3 separate regions of the Homo sapiens genome follow, and regions 1 and 3 are each linked to region 2. The links are contacts of gene promoters, found by promoter capture Hi-C in human tissues and cell types (Jung and others, 2019). All regions are on one chromosome and are shown on one strand. The core of a region is centred on a gene start or on the middle of the fragment in contact, and the rest is flanking DNA. Distances in the headings are between cores, read along the strand shown. Region 1 holds the start of SIRT3 (sirtuin 3). Region 2 holds the start of HRAS (HRas proto-oncogene, GTPase). Region 3 overlaps RIC8A (RIC8 guanine nucleotide exchange factor A).

Region 1 (3,239 bases), core at 427-2,926, 300 kb before region 2:
CGGCCTTCCAAAGTGCTGGAATTACAGGCGTGAGCCACCGCGCCCGGCCGCAAGGATTTGTTTTAACAGTTTTGCAGAGTATCACAGATATTAGAATGCGCTCCACGTGTTTGTAGGTCCTGGTCCCTGCTCCATCCATAGCACCTAGAACAGAGTCTGGCACAGAATAAGAGCTCAGTCAGGGCTTCTTGGATGAACGACTGACTCTTCGGGATCTTTGTTTTTTTTTGAGACGGAGTTTTTGCTCTTTCGCCCGGGCTGGAGTGCAATGGTGCCATCTCGGCTCACTGCAACCTCTGCCTTCCGGGTTCAAGTGATTCTCCTGCCTCCGCCTCCTGAGTAGCTAGGATTACAGGCGCCCGCCACCACGCCCGGCTAATTTTTGTAATTTCAGTAGAAATGGGGTTTCACCATGTTGGCCCAGCTGGTCTCGAACTCCTGACCTCGTTATCCACCCGTCTCATCCTCCCAAAGTGCTGGGATTACAGGCGTGAGCTACCGCGCCCGGCCAACTCTTCAGGATCTATTAAACTTTTTTCTTTTTTTTTTCCCACAGGTAGATAAGAGTCTTGCTCTGTCACCCAGGCTGGAGTGCAGTGGCTCAATCATAGCTCACTGCAGCCTTGAACTCCTGGACTCAAGGGATCCTCTTGCCTTAGTCTCAGGAGTAACTGGGACAACAGGCTTGCGCCACCATGCCCGGCTAATTTTTAAATTTTTGGTAGAGATGGGGGTCTCGTTATGTTGCCCAGGCTGCTCTTGAACTCCTGGCCTCGAGCGATCCCCGTCTCAGCCTCCGAAAGTGCTGGTATTACAAGTGTGAGCTACCACTTCGAGACTCACTTTTCACCAACATTTTCAGCAGTTGTGTCAGACAGCAAGTCAATGTGCCATTATTTACTTAAATATTCATCCATTATAGGGCATCTGATACCTAACAACCATGGACCTTAAGATTTTTTCCTATGTAGCCTCAGTTCTTAGATGCAATTACTATGGAGACGGGTACGATCACATGCCAGTGGGAGTATTAACCGCACAACATTTATGAGGGATCATTAAAGCGTTAAATGCATATACTTTTGGACCTAGCAATCCCAGTACTAGGAATTTATGCAAACAGTGAGGTGCCAACAAGGTTATTCACCACAGCATGATGCACAATAACTAAAGGTTAGAACGTATTTCAATGAGGGAATGGTGAAATAAACGACAAAACCCCCATAAGTGACGTCCACAGATCAGCATAAAGACGGAGGCCCCGGTGTTGGAACGCACGTAAACTCCCAGACATGCCGCAAAGGAAACACGGCAAGGTGAGAAAGAGTGGGCGAGGTGTCGACAACGAACACGCAAGAAGTGCTTGTCCTTGCCCAAAATACCTCGAAAAGAAGAAACTGGGAGCTGCTGCCCTCGGCTGCCTCCGGAATGCCCTGGGCACCTCGGGTCTGGGAGGCCTCTGCAAGGGGCGCGCCGGGTCCAAGGGCTCACCGCGGGCCCCATGGCTGCCTCTCAGCCCCGCACTCACATCGTCCCTGCCGCCAAGCACCAGCCGACAGCCGCAGGCCTGAAACGGCCCCACGCCTCCCCCGGCCTCGACCCGTTCAACTACCCGGCCCCACAGCCGGAGGGCTGCCGCGGCGCGCCAACCCCAGAACGCCATGTTCCGCGCAGTCCAAGGAGTCCTCCGGACTCGCCCCGCCCCCGGCGCCCCGGCCCCGCCTCCGCCTCCCACCCCCGCCCCCGGCGCCCCAGCCCCGCCTCCGCCTACCGCCCCCGCCCCCGGCGCCCCGGTCCCGCCTCCGCGCCCCGCCCCCGCCTCCTTGCCGACGCCTCCGGCGCGCCCAGGTAGACGTAGAGGCGAGTAGAGGAAGTTCCCTAGTCTGGTGTCTCATCTCTCGCCCCGGAGGTCAAACCTGGAGCCAGCATTTCTGTACCCTGCGCTCACACCTTTTTCAACCCGGATGGCGGTGATAGTTAATACTTTCTGAGCGCTTTTACTATGGTCAGGCATTATATTTACACCTAATCCTCGCAAAACACTACTGGGAAGATCCTCATTTGACAGGAGCAATTCCGGGTCACAAAGGCTGACACCACAAAGCTAGTCCGTAGCGGGTTCGACCACAGGCGCCCACACTCTTTGACGCCTCAATGGCACAGCCAAGTGCGCGGGAAGTGGGCTGCAAACGCCGGAGAGTTTTGTCCGGAGCGCAGAGACGCGCTGTAACCGAGCAACCAGCGGGGCCCGCCCCCGGCCTGCTACGGCGCTCCCAGCCTGCCCCGCGCCGCTCGGCGCCGGAAGTGAGTGAGCATTTCCGGCAGCCATCCCCGCGGTGCTGACATCCCGGTTGTTCTTCTGTGCCGGGGGTCTTCCTGCTGTCATGAAGGACGTACCGGGCTTCCTACAGCAGAGCCAGAACTCCGGGCCCGGGCAGCCCGCTGTGTGGCACCGTCTGGAGGAGCTCTACACGAAGAAGTGAGCGCCGAGCAGACGGGCCCTGGGCCCCGGCGATAGAGGGAGACGGAGGGGGCAGGCGGGCGGAGGAGCGGACCCTTGATGGGCTGAGGGCGCCCAGACCCAAGTTGGGGGGAAACGGGGACGTGTAGCGACCGGCTGTGCCGGCAAGGTTTGCTGAGGAACCTTGAGTGGCAGGGTCGAGGAATAAGAGGGATGACAGACCACGAGGGCCAAGAGCTGTAGCCAGGATGTTTCGGTCTGAGATTCACTGCTTCCTTAACGGGGGACTGAGACTGAGGCTTCTGAACTCCTACCTCGGGTCTTACTAAAACGGTTCAGGAGTAGCCTTTGATTTTAGCTCTTGATTCCATCTAACAAGCAAACACACTTTCAGGGCCACCACCCACTTTGGGAAACATGTTGGTGATTCGTGCTTAGCCTTGTCATAGTGTAACTGTATCTACAGTTATCTTTCTCATGGTCTGGAGTTGATAAACCAGAGGCTAGTACAGCTTTGCTGTTTTCCCTATTCATTCTGCAGCTGGTTGCACGGGGTGCAACCACTTCCGCCGTCCCATTGTCTTTACCTTCCATTGTATTTCTCATGGGCTTTCTGCCCCTAGAAAGATCTTAAAGTTTAGGTTTGTTTAGAAACAGGATGAATTGCAGAGCAATTAAATTCTTGCTAAGCACTAACCTCCTTTTAATATGAGTAGAATAAATTGCTGGCATTGGGCTGGAGCTATTCCATAGAAAATACATCTCCTGTAGTAACCTC
Region 2 (2,700 bases), core at 201-2,700:
CAGGGGCTGCAGCCAGCCCTATCCTGGCTGTGTCCTGGGCTCGCCCGCAGCAGCTGCTGGCACCTGGACGGCGGCGCCAGGCTCACCTCTATAGTGGGGTCGTATTCGTCCACAAAATGGTTCTGGATCAGCTGGATGGTCAGCGCACTCTTGCCCACACCGCCGGCGCCCACCACCACCAGCTTATATTCCGTCATCGCTCCTCAGGGGCCTGCGGCCCGGGGTCCTCCTACAGGGTCTCCTGCCCCACCTGCCAAGGAGGGCCCTGCTCAGCCAGGCCCAGGCCCAGCCCCAGGCCCCACAGGGCAGCTGCTGGCAGGGCCATCTGAAGGGCAAACCCACAGCGGTCCCTGGGCCCCAACGCCAGGCAGCAAGGACTGCAGCGTGCCTACCTGTGCAGCTGCAACCCAGCGTGCGGGAGGGCTGTCGCCTCGCCCCCACTTGCTCTTAATGACCCAGTGATGGGAAAAGGGACCCAGCCCTCAAAGGCAGGGCTGACAGCTGAGCGCTCTCAACCACGCACCCAAATTAGAAGCTGCTGGGTCGGCAGAAAGGCTAAAGGGAGGCGCCCGAGGGCTGAGGTTACCGTCCTCCAGAACAGGTCTGGCCACGGCGGAGCGCGCCACGGCGTGCCCGGGCAGGCTAGTGCCAGCCTGCAGGCCCCGCGGCGCTGGTGCCTCCGACAAGTATTTGCTGAGCGCCTACTGCGTACTAGGCGCCGCCGAGGGGAGGGCAGACCCGGGCAGCGCCCCGCACCCCCGGCGGGGAACCGGGGGCATCTTTCAGCCACAGAAAGCTGGAGAAGACAGAGGAGCTCCTGGGAAGCAGGGACTGAGCGACAGGAAGGGGCCGAGAAGCGGCGCGGGAGACCCGGAGAGGGAAAAGGCACTGGGGCTGAGGCCCCCGGCCTGGTCCGCGACCTGTGATGCTGAATCGGGGGTGCCCGGGCGTGCCGTGGCCGCGGCCGCCTCCTCCCAGACGCCCCCGGGTGTGAGGGCGCCGGGCCCGAGGCTCCCGGGTACGCCGGCGTGGGGACCGTGCCCAGCGCGAGGCCACGGGTGGGGCCCGGATTCCCGCAGGCCCCAGGGAGGAAGGGGCCCCCGCCCGCCGCAGCCCCCGACGCCCGCTCACCTGTGCCCGCGGGCCCCGCCCGGCCCCACCCACCCGCCGCCGCCGCCGCCGCCGCCGCTTACGCCCGCCGGCCCCGCGCCCCCGGCCCGCGCCGCGCGTATTGCTGCCGCCTGGGGGCGAGGAGGGCGCGCGGCCCGGCCGATCCCTGCCCGCACTCACCGTTCACAGGCGCGACTGCCCCCGGGGCCAGGGCCGGGGCCGAGGCCGGGGCGGGGCGGGGGCGGGGGCGCGCGGTTCGCCCCGCGCATGGGCTCCGTCCGCGGCGGGTGCGGCTCGGGTTGCGGGCGCAGGGCACGGGCGGCGGAGACTCGGGCGGGCCTGCGCACGCCCCGCCCCGCGCCCGTCCGTCTGCCAGGCGCGGCCTACCATTGGCTGCGCGCCATCGGGCCCCGCCCCACCCCGGTTGGCTGAGCGGCCCGTCTGTCAGGAGCCGCGGTCGGGCGGGGCTTCCGGGAGCAACGCGGGAGGCGGAGCCAGTAGGGCCGCGGCCTCTCGGGGTTGGGCTTGGCTGGAGACCGGAGCCGAGCTCGGGGTTGCTCGAGGAAGGCCAGGGAGCCGGTGTCTGGGGGCCCGGGGCGGCATCTCCGAGCAGGGCCCCGGGCTCTCCCGGGAACAGGCCGGCGAGAGAACCCGACTCAGCGGTGCCGGTGCACCAGAGGCCCTCCCTGCGCCGGCAGCGCGGCGCCGCCCACCGCGGAGGTCCCGGGGCTACGGGCTGGGGAAAGGCTGGGATCCGCCGGGACCAAGGCGGGATGCTCGGAGCTGGGGGCCCCCGGGTGGCCGCGGGGTCCGGTTGCCCGGCTGCCCTTCCGCGCAGGTGGAGCGGCCGCGCACCCCACCTACCACCACGCACCCCAGCTCCCCTACTCCCACCGCAACCCACCCCGAGGACGCTTGCAGCCCCGGTGGGGTTCCGGGCGGCGGGCGCAGCCGTGTGCCCTGGGGCCAGGCGTGAGAACGCCCCCTCCACCACTCTCCTCTTTCTCGGGCCTGCGTGGCAGGCGACCCTGCCCGCCCAGTCCCCCCAAACTTGAGGTTCCAACGCTGCAGAAGCTCAGCGTGGTCCAGTTAAACCGTACCCACAAGTTGCCACAGGGGAGCGAAGTGCCCAGGGCTCACCCCAAGCACATAGACGCACATCCTAGCTCTTTCAAACCCAAAAAGACATGTTTTTAACATTTTTTAAAATTGCAAAGGAATCAGAAATACATCCTCATTAAAAAACAAAAAGGGCCGGGCGCGGTGGCTCACGCCTATAATCCCAGCACTTCGGGAGGCCTAAGCGGGTGGATTACTTGAGGTCAGGAGTTCAAGACCAGCCTGGCCAACATGATGAAACCCTGTCTCTACTAAAAACACAAAAAATTAGTCGGCTGCAGTGGCGCGCGCCTGTAGTCCCAGCTACTCGGGAGGCTGAGGCAGGAGAATCGCTGGAACCCGGGAGGCGGATGTTGCGGTGAGCCGAAATCGCGCCACTGCACTGGGCAACAGAGCGCTACTTCGTCTCAAAACAAAAAAGGCGTTTTACAGTCAGGCAAACCCTGCCTCTGCCCAGTCCAGCGCCCGCCT
Region 3 (3,370 bases), core at 399-2,898, 320 kb before region 2:
GTGACCGGGAGGGTGGAGGAGAAGCCGCCTAACCCTATGGAGGGCATGACAGAGGAGCAGAAGGAGCACGAGGCCATGAAGCTGGTGACCATGTTTGACAAGCTCTCCAGGTGTGTGGCATGAGGAGGAGGGGCCTGCAGCTGGGAGAAGGGAGAGCTGACCCACATCCTGTCTTGTGAGCCCCAGGAGGTAGGATCAGAGGAGAGCTTAGGATCCTGGTATTAGGTTGCATTGCTCACGTTTGAAATCACTTGCCCTGGAGGAAATCCCCCAGGGGATGGGTATATTGAGATCAGTATTGTGCCCCTTTTACAGATGATAACTGAGGCCCAGAGAAATTAAGAGACTGTCTAAGGCCGGGCGTGGTAGCTCACGCCTATAATCCCAGCACTTTGGGAGACTGAGGCAGGTAGATCACAAGGTCAGGAGATCGAGACCATCCTGGCCAACATGGTGAAACCCCATCTCTGCTAAAATACAAAAAAAAAGTTAGCTGGGCGTGGTGGTGGGCGCCTGTAGTCCCAGCTGCTCGGGAGGTTGAGGCAGGGGAATCACTTGAACCCAGGAGGCAGAGCTTGCAGTGAGCTGACATTGTGCCACCGCACTCCAGCCTGGCAACAGAGTGAGACTTCGTCTCAAAAAAAAAAAAGAGACTAATGTCGCCAGATTTATTGGAGATGGCCCAGTGTCCAAATTAAGAGCCTGCTTAAGGCCAATTTAGATGTTTAAAATAGGAAACTGCTTAAAGCCAGGAGGCAGCAGTTAGGGTTTGGGCCCAGTTAACAGAAGGTCCAACCAGGCTTCCCCAGTAAATGGGAGCAGCCTACTTGGTAGAGAGGAAGGTAGCAGCCACGGGTGAGTAGGACCCCTGCCTGGCCAACTGGGCCCCTTCCCCAGCCCCACTGCACCTTTCCCCAACAGGAACAGAGTCATCCAGCCAATGGGGATGAGTCCCCGGGGTCATCTTACGTCCCTGCAGGATGCCATGTGCGAGACTATGGAGCAGCAGCTCTCCTCGGACCCTGACTCGGACCCTGACTGAGGATGGCAGCTCTTCTGCTCCCCCATCAGGACTGGTGCTGCTTCCAGAGACTTCCTTGGGGTTGCAACCTGGGGAAGCCACATCCCACTGGATCCACACCCGCCCCCACTTCTCCATCTTAGAAACCCCTTCTCTTGACTCCCGTTCTGTTCATGATTTGCCTCTGGTCCAGTTTCTCATCTCTGGACTGCAACGGTCTTCTTGTGCTAGAACTCAGGCTCAGCCTCGAATTCCACAGACGAAGTACTTTCTTTTGTCTGCGCCAAGAGGAATGTGTTCAGAAGCTGCTGCCTGAGGGCAGGGCCTACCTGGGCACACAGAAGAGCATATGGGAGGGCAGGGGTTTGGGTGTGGGTGCACACAAAGCAAGCACCATCTGGGATTGGCACACTGGCAGAGCCAGTGTGTTGGGGTATGTGCTGCACTTCCCAGGGAGAAAACCTGTCAGAACTTTCCATACGAGTATATCAGAACACACCCTTCCAAGGTATGTATGCTCTGTTGTTCCTGTCCTGTCTTCACTGAGCGCAGGGCTGGAGGCCTCTTAGACATTCTCCTTGGTCCTCGTTCAGCTGCCCACTGTAGTATCCACAGTGCCCGAGTTCTCGCTGGTTTTGGCAATTAAACCTCCTTCCTACTGGTTTAGACTACACTTACAACAAGGAAAATGCCCCTCGTGTGACCATAGATTGAGATTTATACCACATACCACACATAGCCACAGAAACATCATCTTGAAATAAAGAAGAGTTTTGGACAAAAATGTATGTGTAAATTATCAAATAAAGGGGCCAGGCACAGTGGCTCATGCCTGTAATCCCAGCACTTTGGGAGGCCGAGGTGGGTGGATCACTTGAAGCCAGGAGTTCGAGACCAGCCTGGCCAACATAGCAAAACCTTGTCTCTATTACAAATATGCCCATGTGCTAGGTGTGGTGGGACACACCTGTAATCCCAGCTACCCAGGAGAATCGCTTAAACCCGGGAGGCGGAAGTTGCAGTGAGCTGAGATCATAACACCGCACTCCACCCTGAGTGACAGGGCAAGACTCAAAAAATAAAAAAGGAACATTAACTAGGGTTAGAAACTAACTTCATTCTTTTTAGAATTCAACAGTTTTCCTAGGTCACCAATTCCACCTTTTGTTCTTATTAAGGCGCAAAGTCACAGGACCCCCTTCCTGGGAGTCACTGTCATTAAATCTATTGCCGTCAGCTCAGCCCAGGGTAGGCAAGGTTCAAGAATGGGAAGTGCTTTTGTCTGGGGAAACACGCAGGTAATGTGATGCTAGGAAGGAGGATGTGCAGGTGGGTGAGAGCCCAGGAGGGAGCAGCTGGTGCCTGACAGGGTGAGCCATCAGGGCTGGGCCTGGGTACAGCCCCAGGAGAAGGAGCCTGTGCAGAAGTAGCAGTTCAGTGGATTCCACCTCCTATGTCACAATCCAGCAGGTGGCCAGGACTCAGCCTGGGTTTTAAGTGAGTAATGCCTTCCCTGTCTCAGAGATTAGCTCTAACAGTGTCACTAGAGGAAGCCCTGGCGAGGGTGGGGGGGCGTAGTGTGGGGACAAGGAGGCCAGATAGAAAGTGCTGGAATGTTCTGGAACAGATCTGTTTCTGGAGGAGAGGCTGAGTATGGAGAGTCAACAGAATGTGACCACCTTCAGAGGGAGGAGCTGGGCCGTCTCCAATAAATCCAGGGACAAATGCCTTCAGTCCTCAGACTGTTCCAATAGAGGGGACGCCACGTATCCCAGGGTTCCCTTTCCAACTCATGTCAACACCTGCAGTCCCTTTGAGGAGACTAAATGTATTTCATGCTGGAAAGAACAGATTTTCTCTCATTAAAAATAGCCCCACTAAAGGAGACCAACATGCTAGAAGTGCGGCACCAGGGCCTCAAGACTACACTTCGGAACATGAAGAGGGCTGGGGACCGCTCGGCCCAAGTCTGGATCTTGTAACCAACAGATGCCGAGCTTGCCGTTCAACTAGGCACAGAAAGCAGACTCGGTCTGGGATTCCAGTTGGTCTGATTCAGTTCAAGAGGGTCACAGTCAGAAGAAAGCTTTTTCCATTAGGAGCTTCAGCAGAGTGAAGAGTTCAACACAGCAAACAGGCAGGCAGCTCCTTTGTATATGTGACGGGGTGGCCCTGACTGTAAACACAGCCCTACCAGTCACTGCAGCTCATGGCCTGAGAAGACATTCCAGTGGCAGCCTCGGGTGTCCACTCAGTTCACATATTCTGGTTTCACCTGCCCAAGCTGTCTTCAGGCATGAGGTCTTGTCAGAATTGGGATGTGGATGTCTCCTATGTTACCATTTATTG

The links. The method cuts DNA at HindIII sites, captures the fragments that hold promoters and counts their contacts. A contact is called where the count stands out against the background at its distance.
Region 1: the fragment with the promoter of SIRT3 here is called in contact with the fragment with the promoter of HRAS in region 2 in 1 of the 25 tissues and cell types used here (dorsolateral prefrontal cortex).
Region 3: a fragment that was not itself captured here is called in contact with the fragment with the promoter of HRAS in region 2 in 1 of the 25 tissues and cell types used here (lymphoblastoid cells).

What each region holds. Positions count from the first base shown.
Region 1 is chr11:234,666-237,904 of GRCh38, forward strand. SIRT3 (sirtuin 3) reads right to left here and starts at 1,677. Exons shown (of 7, transcript NM_012239.6): 1 at 1,383-1,677. The coding sequence starts at 1,663. It overlaps PSMD13 (proteasome 26S subunit, non-ATPase 13), which reads left to right and starts at 2,311. Exons shown (of 13, transcript NM_002817.4): 1 at 2,311-2,479. The coding sequence starts at 2,385. RefSeq lists a silencer at 1,743-1,822 and enhancers at 1,973-2,162, 2,323-2,562. The HindIII fragment of the contact is 7,029 bases long and covers 1-3,239 here.
Region 2 is chr11:534,126-536,825 of GRCh38, forward strand. It overlaps HRAS (HRas proto-oncogene, GTPase), which reads right to left and starts at 1,451. Exons shown (of 6, transcript NM_005343.4): 1 at 1,291-1,451; 2 at 87-250. The coding sequence starts at 197. It also overlaps a transcript of LRRC56 not described here. RefSeq lists enhancers at 1-524, 525-1,381, 1,403-2,110 and a silencer at 388-547. The HindIII fragment of the contact is 24,710 bases long and covers 1-2,700 here.
Region 3 is chr11:213,309-216,678 of GRCh38, forward strand. It overlaps RIC8A (RIC8 guanine nucleotide exchange factor A), which reads left to right. Exons shown (of 10, transcript NM_001286134.2): 9 at 1-110; 10 at 922-1,805. The coding sequence ends at 1,042. SIRT3 (sirtuin 3) reads right to left here. Exons shown (of 7, transcript NM_012239.6): 7 at 1,722-3,370. Among named protein-coding and RNA genes, the nearest start is that of MIR6743, 5.7 kb to the left of the region's middle. The HindIII fragment of the contact is 6,100 bases long and covers 1-3,370 here.